Regions from separate parts of the Homo sapiens genome. Here all the other regions are linked to region 1. Evidence: promoter capture Hi-C in human tissues and cell types (Jung and others, 2019). All regions are on one chromosome and are shown on one strand. Each heading gives the region's core, a stretch centred on a gene start or on the middle of the fragment in contact. The rest is flanking DNA. Distances are from core to core; before and after follow the strand shown.

Evidence for each region. The method cuts DNA at HindIII sites, captures the fragments that hold promoters and counts their contacts. A contact is called where the count stands out against the background at its distance.
Region 2: a contact is called between a fragment that was not itself captured here and the fragment with the promoter of FOXD2 in region 1, in 1 of the 25 tissues and cell types used here (stomach).
Region 3: a contact is called between a fragment that was not itself captured here and the fragment with the promoter of FOXD2 in region 1, in 1 of the 25 tissues and cell types used here (neural progenitor cells).

The regions. Positions count from the first base shown.
Region 1 is chr1:47,436,713-47,439,382 of GRCh38, forward strand. FOXD2 (forkhead box D2) reads left to right here and starts at 1,332. Exons shown (of 1, transcript NM_004474.4): 1 at 1,332-2,670. The coding sequence starts at 1,424. It overlaps LINC01389 (long intergenic non-protein coding RNA 1389), which reads right to left and starts at 605. Exons shown (of 5, transcript NR_126355.1): 1 at 578-605. RefSeq lists silencers at 452-1,351, 1,382-1,561. The HindIII fragment of the contact is 12,527 bases long and covers 1-2,670 here.
Region 2 is chr1:48,191,914-48,194,583 of GRCh38, forward strand. No RefSeq gene overlaps it. Among named protein-coding and RNA genes, the nearest start is that of SLC5A9, 29 kb to the right of the region's middle. The HindIII fragment of the contact is 3,743 bases long and covers 1-2,670 here.
Region 3 is chr1:47,990,294-47,992,963 of GRCh38, forward strand. All of the region lies in intron 2 of TRABD2B (TraB domain containing 2B), which reads right to left. Among named protein-coding and RNA genes, the nearest start is that of TRABD2B, 5.8 kb to the right of the region's middle. The HindIII fragment of the contact is 3,895 bases long and covers 1-2,670 here.

The DNA of each region.
Region 1 (2,670 bases), core at 82-2,581:
TGAAATGGGCCCAATCTGTGTTGAAGCTGCTTGTTTCTGGGTCCTGGAGGGAGGCCGGGGGAGAAAGAGGTCTAATAGGATGGGCAGGAACCCGGCTAGCGAGAAACAAGGCACAGGGCCAACCTTAGTTGCACAAGACTTTTGAGAGATGAAGGCAACACTTGGTGGAGGTCAGGGTTCACTGAGGGGGTGTCGGGCAGGGGGCGGAGGAGGTCCTGCCGCCTGTCGGTGGGGCCCAGAACCCTGGGAGCCAGGAAGGTGGGGGGTGTCCAGTCCTCAGGGCAACTGGGGCCAGGGAGAGGGGAGGGAGAAATTAAGCGGATTCCCAGACCCATGAACAGACATCCAGACAAATGCCGTTTCCACAGAGACTCACGGAGAGTGAGATAGTCACAGAGACTGAGACAAACGGATGCCGAGATCCAGAGGGTCGGAGAACAGGCAAACTCGGAGCAGTAGACCGGCCCGCGCCCCGGGAACGCGGCCACAGCGGCCGGCGCTCTGCCCGGCCTCTCCGCGCGGAGAGGGGTGGCGGGCCCGACAGCGGAGGGAGGAGAGGGCGCCGCCGCAATCTCACCTCTCCCAGGCCCAAGGCTGCGGGCGCCAAGTTCGCTCCTGGTGATCACTCGAATGCGTCTCCCCTCGGGCTGGAAGCCGTGCGGGCTCGGGTGGGCGCCGGCGGGCCGCGCTGGGGCGGCGTGGGTCCCGGCGTCTCAGCCTCGCGCTCCCACTGCGCTTCGGCCCGGTGGCCCGGGCGCCGCCTTGGGGAGAGGACGGGTGGGGACCGCCGCCACTTCCCTGGCTGCGGCTGGCGCCCGAGTGAGCCTTAACATCCAGGGGCTGAGCGTTCTGAAGGCGGCGGCTTCAGGGAGCACAGGGTGCAGGAGCGGCGGCGAAGACAAGGGCCCGCCTCCGGCCACTCGAGCCCAGCTCCCGCCGCGGCGGCGGTTTGTTCCCGCCGGGTCCCTCAGCGGAGGCGCTACGCCCGCCCCTGTCGCCTCGCCCCACCCCGCCCAGGGAGCTCCGCCCTAGCCCGCAGCTCTTCCGCCTTAGGCAGCCGCTAGGCGGGAGGGACAATCCCCCACCACCAACCACTGCCACCCCGAGGGGACTAGGGGCTGAGGCCCGCCCAGGTAAGGGAAAGCCTCAGCTCCTTCCGTTGCGCCCCAGCGGCGGGTCCCAGCTCGGATTCCCGGGGTAGTGGCGGGGGCCGCCGGCGGGTCGTGCCCTGGAAGGTGAGCGCGGCCGAGCTGGGCCGCCAGGGGGCGCTGCGGAGCCGGGGGACACCCCTCCCTGCCTGCCTCAGTCCCCCGCCCCCTCCCCGCCCGCGCGCAAAACGCACTCGCCCCAGAGGCAGCGCGGCCGAGCCCGAGCCGCTGCCGGAGCGGAGCCGGAGAGTGGCGGCGGCGGCGGCAGCGGCACCATGACCCTGGGCAGCTGCTGCTGCGAGATCATGTCCTCCGAGAGCTCCCCGGCCGCGCTGTCCGAGGCCGACGCAGACATAGACGTGGTGGGCGGCGGCAGCGGCGGGGGGGAGCTCCCAGCTCGCTCCGGGCCCCGCGCCCCCCGGGACGTGCTCCCCCACGGCCACGAGCCTCCCGCGGAGGAAGCCGAGGCAGACTTAGCCGAGGACGAGGAGGAGTCTGGTGGCTGCTCGGACGGCGAGCCCCGCGCTCTGGCGTCCCGGGGGGCGGCGGCCGCAGCGGGGAGCCCGGGGCCAGGCGCCGCGGCGGCCCGCGGCGCAGCGGGGCCCGGGCCGGGACCGCCGTCGGGGGGCGCGGCGACGCGGAGCCCGCTGGTGAAGCCGCCCTACTCGTACATCGCGCTCATCACCATGGCCATCCTGCAGAGCCCCAAGAAGCGGCTGACGTTGAGCGAGATCTGCGAGTTCATCAGCGGCCGCTTCCCCTACTACCGGGAGAAGTTCCCCGCCTGGCAGAACAGCATCCGCCACAACCTCTCTCTCAACGACTGCTTCGTCAAGATCCCCCGCGAGCCGGGCAACCCGGGCAAGGGCAACTACTGGACGCTGGACCCGGAGTCGGCCGACATGTTCGACAACGGCAGCTTCCTGCGGCGTCGCAAGCGCTTCAAGCGGCAGCCCCTGCCGCCGCCGCACCCACACCCGCACCCTCACCCGGAGCTGCTGCTGCGTGGCGGGGCCGCGGCGGCGGGGGATCCCGGCGCTTTCCTGCCCGGCTTCGCTGCCTACGGCGCCTACGGCTACGGCTACGGGCTGGCTCTCCCGGCCTACGGCGCACCCCCGCCGGGGCCGGCCCCGCATCCGCACCCGCACCCGCACGCCTTCGCTTTCGCCGCGGCAGCCGCCGCCGCTCCTTGCCAGCTGTCGGTACCCCCAGGCCGCGCCGCCGCGCCTCCACCCGGACCTCCGACGGCCTCGGTGTTCGCAGGCGCGGGATCGGCCCCAGCTCCTGCGCCTGCCTCAGGCTCGGGCCCGGGCCCGGGCCCCGCAGGCCTGCCCGCCTTCCTGGGCGCGGAGCTGGGCTGCGCCAAAGCCTTCTACGCGGCGTCCCTGAGTCCTCCCGCAGCCGGCACCGCGGCGGGTCTGCCCACCGCACTTCTGCGCCAGGGCCTCAAGACGGACGCGGGCGGTGGTGCAGGCGGCGGGGGCGCCGGGGCAGGGCAGAGGCCTTCCTTCTCTATAGACCA
Region 2 (2,670 bases), core at 69-2,568, 760 kb after region 1:
ACTGGTTTTGGTGGAGACGGGGTTTCGCTGTGTTGGCCGGGCTGGTCTCCAGCCCCTAACCGCGAGTGATCCGCCAGCCTCGGCCTCTCGAGGTGCCGCGATTGCAGACGGAGTCTCATTCACTCAGTGCTCAATGGTGCCCAGGCTGGAGTGCAGTGGCGTGATCTCGGCTCGCTACAACCTACACCTCCCAGCCGCCTGCCTTGGCCTCCCAAAGTGCCGAGATTGCAGCCTCTGCCCGGCCACCACCCCGTCTGGGAAGTGAGGAGTGTCTCTGCCTGGCCGCCCATCGTCTGGGATGTGAGGAGCCCCTCTGCCTGGCTGCCTAGTCTGGAAAGTGAGGAGCGTCTCCGCCCGGCCGCCATCCCATCTAGGAAGTGAGGAGCGCCTCTTCCCGGCCGCCATCACATCTAGGAGGTGAGGAGCGTCTCTGCCCGGCCGCCCATCGTCTGAGATGTGGGGAGCGCCTCTGCCCCGCCGCCCCATCTGGGATGTGAGGAGCGCCTCTGCCCGGCCGCGACCCCGTCTGGGAGGTGAGGAGCGTCTCTGCCCGGCCGCCCCGTCTGAGAAGTGAGGAGACCCTCTGCCTGGCAACCACCCCGTCTGAGAAGTGAGGAGCCCCTCTGCCCGGGGGCCACCCCATCTGGGAAGTGAGGAGCGTCTCCGCCCGGCAGCCACCCCATCTGGGAACTGAGGAGCGTCTCCGCCCGGCAGCCACCCCGTCTGGGAGGGAGGTGGGGGGGGTCAGCCCCCCGCCCGGCCAGCCGCCCCGTCCGGGAGGGAGGTGTGGGGGGTCAGCCCCCCCGCCCAGCCAGCCGCCCCGTCCGGGAGGTGAGGGGTGCCTCTGCCCGGCCGCCCCTACTGGGAAGTGAGGAGCCCCTCTGCCCAGCCAGCCGCCCCGTCGGGGAGGGAGGTGGGGGGGTCAGCCCCCCGCCCGGCCAGCCGCCCCGTCCGGGAGGGAGGTGGGGGGGTCAGCCCCCCGCCCGGCCAGCCACCCTGTCTGGGAGGTGAGGGGCGCCTCTGCCCGGCCGCCCCTACTGGGAAGTGAGGAGCCCCTCTGCCCGGCCAGCCGCCCTGTCCTGGAGGGAGGTGGGGGGGTCAGCCCCCTGCCCGGCCAGCCACCCCGTCCGGGAGGTGAGGGGCGCCTCTGCCCGGCAGCCCCTACTGGGAAGTGAGGAGCCCCTCTGCCCGGCCACCACCCCGTCTGGGAGGTGTGCCCAACAGCTCATTGAGAACGGGCCAGGATGACAATGGCGGCTTTGTGGAATAGAAAGGCGGGAAAGGTGGGGAAAAGATTGAGAAATCGGATGGTTGCCGTGTCTGTGTAGAAAGAAGTAGACATGGGAGACTTTTCATTTTGTTCTGCACTAAGAAAAATTCTTCTGCCTTGGAAAAAAAAAAAAAAAAAAAAGGAACAGGCAAAGATTTTATGACAAAGACACCAAAAGCAATCACAACAAAAGCAGACATTAACAAATGGGATCTAATTAAACTTAAGAGTTTCTGCACAGCAAAAGAAACTATCAATAGAATAAATAGCCTACAGAAGAGGAGAAAATATCTGCAAACTATGCATCCAACAAAGGTCTAATATCCTGCATCTATAAGGAGCTTAAACAAATTTACAAGAAAAAAAATAAGCAACCCCATTAAAAAGTAAGCAAAAGACATAAACAGACATTTTTCAAAAGATGACAAACACACATAGCCAACAAGCTTATGAAAAAAGAAGCTCAATATCACTGATCATTAGAGAAGTGCAAAGCAAAACCACAGTGAGATACCATCTTACACCAGTCAGAATGGCTATAAAGGTCAAAAAATAATAGGTGCTAGAGAGGTAGTGGGGAAAAGGGAATACTTATACATTGTTGGTGGGAATGCAAATTAGTTCAACCAATGTGGAAAGCAGTATGGTGATTTCTCAAAGAGCTGAAACAGAACTACCATCTGACCCAGCAGTCTCATTACTAGATATATACATGGAGGAATATGAATCATTCTACCATAAAGATACATGCATGCAAATGTTCATTGCAGCACTGTTCACAACAGCAAAGACGTGGAATCAACCTAAATGCCCATCAATGACAGATTGGATGAAGAAAATGTGGTACGTATATACCATGGAATGCTATGCAGTCATAAAAAAGAACAAGATCATGTGCTTTGTGGGAACATGAGCTGTTGTGGGAGCTGGGGCTATTATCCTTAGCAAACTAACACAGAAACAGAAAAAATAATATCGAATGTGCTCACTTATAAGTGGAAGTTAAATGATGAAAACTCATGAACACAAAGAAGGGAACAACAGACACTGGGGTCTGTTCGAGGGTGAAGGGTGGGGAGGAGGAAGAGGAGCAGAAAAGATAACTATATGTGTACTAGGTTTAATACCTGGGTGATGAAATAATCTGTACAACAAACCCCTGTTACACGAGTTTACCTACATAACAAACCGGCACCTAAAATAGAAGTTAAAAAAAAAAAAACTTGAAGTCAAAGAAAAAAAAACTGCCTTTGTAGATGATATGATTCTTTCTACAGAAAATCCCAAGGAATCTCAAAACGAACAAACAAAACCCTCGTGAAATTGATAAGTAGTTATAGAAAGGTTTAGGATACCAAAGTCAATTGCTTTCAGTTGTATCTTTGCAATTTCCTGTGAAT
Region 3 (2,670 bases), core at 128-2,627, 550 kb after region 1:
TGAAGGGGAGGACTCAGGTCCCCTAGAGGGAGAAGTAGTGGCAGCCGGTACCAGTCCCTGGTGGCAGCAGGCAGAGCTGATAGAAATCTGCAGGTCTCAAGCTTGTCATAAGATCTGGACTCAAGACTTAGGCATCCTTGGGCCCCCAAGGGCAGGGGCTCACCGCCTCCTAATACTCCAACGTTCAACAAGGGATGACGAGTGGATATGGCTGCTGGGAGAAGGGAGTGGCAACTTCCCATGCAGCCTTCCTCTTTCCCTGCCCTGGAGCCAGCCTAGACTGTTTGCCAAGCACAAAACCAACATCCAAGTAGTCATTTTAACCCATCAACAACCTCCCACAGGTAGTATCTTCTCATGTCCCCACAAAAACCAGCTCAACTTTGAAAGACTGGTAATTGCTGCCCCATTGGATGGATGGGCATACCAAGTCTTGCCCAAGATTATATACAAGTTGTTGGTTTTAAAACGTTGGTTTTATATATATATATATATATATATATATATATATATATATATATATATATATATATATATATATAAAACGTTGGTTTTAGTGTTGAGGCTGGGACTGACACCTGGAAGCAAGTCTCCTATCTCCAGCCCACTGTGCTGAGCTGTCTACAATACAACAAGAAAACCTTCAGAGACCTGCCTCACCACCAGCCTCATAGCCGAAGGAAATATCTCTACAAGTATAAATTTTCCAAGAAAGACAATTTTAAGCCCTCAAGTCCTAAAGGGGAGAGAGAAACAGAAGAAAGAACTAAGGAATGATTACAGAAGATATCAAATACCTAGACAGGAGGAAGTCTAGAGAAACAGTGTGGGGAAGCTGGGAGAACACATCCTTCATACAGAGTCAGGCTGACTGGCTCTGTTCCTTATTAGCCACGTGACCTTGGGCAAGTCATTCAACATTTCTGGATGCCCACCTTAGAAAGCCATAGGGTTGTTATGAGAATTCAATGCAGTGGAAAAGCGTGTGGAGCCTCCTGCAGGGTGCCTGGCACGTGGAATTGATTAGAATCATCCTATGGAATGTCAGGGCTAGAAGGAGCTTGAATGATGACCTCATCTCAGTGTCTTATTTCACAGACCAAGAAAACAGGGCCCAGAGAGAGGAAGTGACTTGCCCAAGGTCACATAGCAAAGTCACGGTGATGTTGGGTCTAGCACCCTCAGTTTATTTTGAAATCAAAGACCAAAACCTAACAATAGACCTGATCTTCCAAGCTGCGCAAGGGTGGAAGAAGCTTTTTCCAGGGTTCCAAAACTTAAGCTTTCTTTCTCCATTTAACAAGCAAAATTATGGTTATTTCTGTCCAGAAAAAAATACAAAAATTTTAAAAACAACATTAATACTAAAATCCCAGATCTTAACAAAAAGACACTGTTTTAAGCCTTATTTTTCCCGCCTTCTTCTCTCACTGTCTCCCCAACCCAAATATTTTGCAATAACAGTAATGCTGCGAGGAAAGAAAAAATAAAAATCTGATGCACTTAACAGATATTTCAGTGCACTAATGCATCACAGATGTTCATATCAAACTGTGCACGCGTGCATGTAATTTTACTGAGAAGGCTGTTGCATTTCTGATTTTGAATTTTTGGATCCCTAATGACCTCATCTGCCTAGGCTCCAGAATCCCACCCTTCCCATTTAGTCCAAGGCTGCCCAAGGGGATGGAGGAGAGATTTCATCGCCTCCCTACAAAATGATAACAGGACAAATTGGCATGATTGGACACTCTGGCAGGTGGTGAAGGGTATGGAGATTAGGGAACTAAGAGGAGTTCTGTTTTCTTTTGTTTGGGACTTGCTTTCTGCAGCTCTTTTGAGGAGCTGGACCAAAGAACAATTTTAAGAGTGGGCCCAGGCTGGTGATGGGTTGGGCACATTTTTGAAATAGAATTGGAGTCTGTTTGATCTTCAAACATGAGCTTTGGAGACTGTCAGCAGGCTCCCTCCCGGCCGATGAATGGCTCTCAGTAACTTTTCCTAAAACATAACCTCACACACACTTTCCAGCAAATGTTTTCACCCTACCAAAGCCATCATTTGGTTGAACAGGAGTGTCTCCCGACCCCAAAGAAAGATAGTTTTGTTGTTTTAAGAGAGACGGATTAAAGACAGGGGCTGCTTAGCCAGAGTTTGTGTGTGCTCCCTTCAGCCTTTGTCGGATTCCTCTGTGGTTGGTGCAAAGAGAGTGTTGAGAGTGATGGTGGATACCTCACCTCCCCATCCTAAAAAAGATATCGAGGCCAGACCTAGGCCTCTGAACAGAGAGGCCTCCCACAAACCTGCCTCCGAAATGAGATGGGCGGTGAGCGCCGGGGGTCCCGACACAGATAATATCAGCTCCCGAGGCTGGCAAGGGAAAAGTCACTTCAGAGGGAGAAAGCGGCTATGTTCAGAGGAATCAGCACTGGGCCATAGAATACACAGGATTTTCCCCCGTGGAGAAGGAGTCAGGCGTAGTCAGAACCCTGCAGGGCGTGACTAACTGCCCCAATACTCCTGCCACTGGGGCCCTCTGGGTAAGGACTCCACAATTATGGGAGAGCCAGCAGGAGAACCGACAAACCCGCCTTTCATTTGGCCGGCAAATCAATCTGGCTTCTTACCTCCCCAGGGACAATATTGCATTTCCCTTGGAAAAACAAAGGC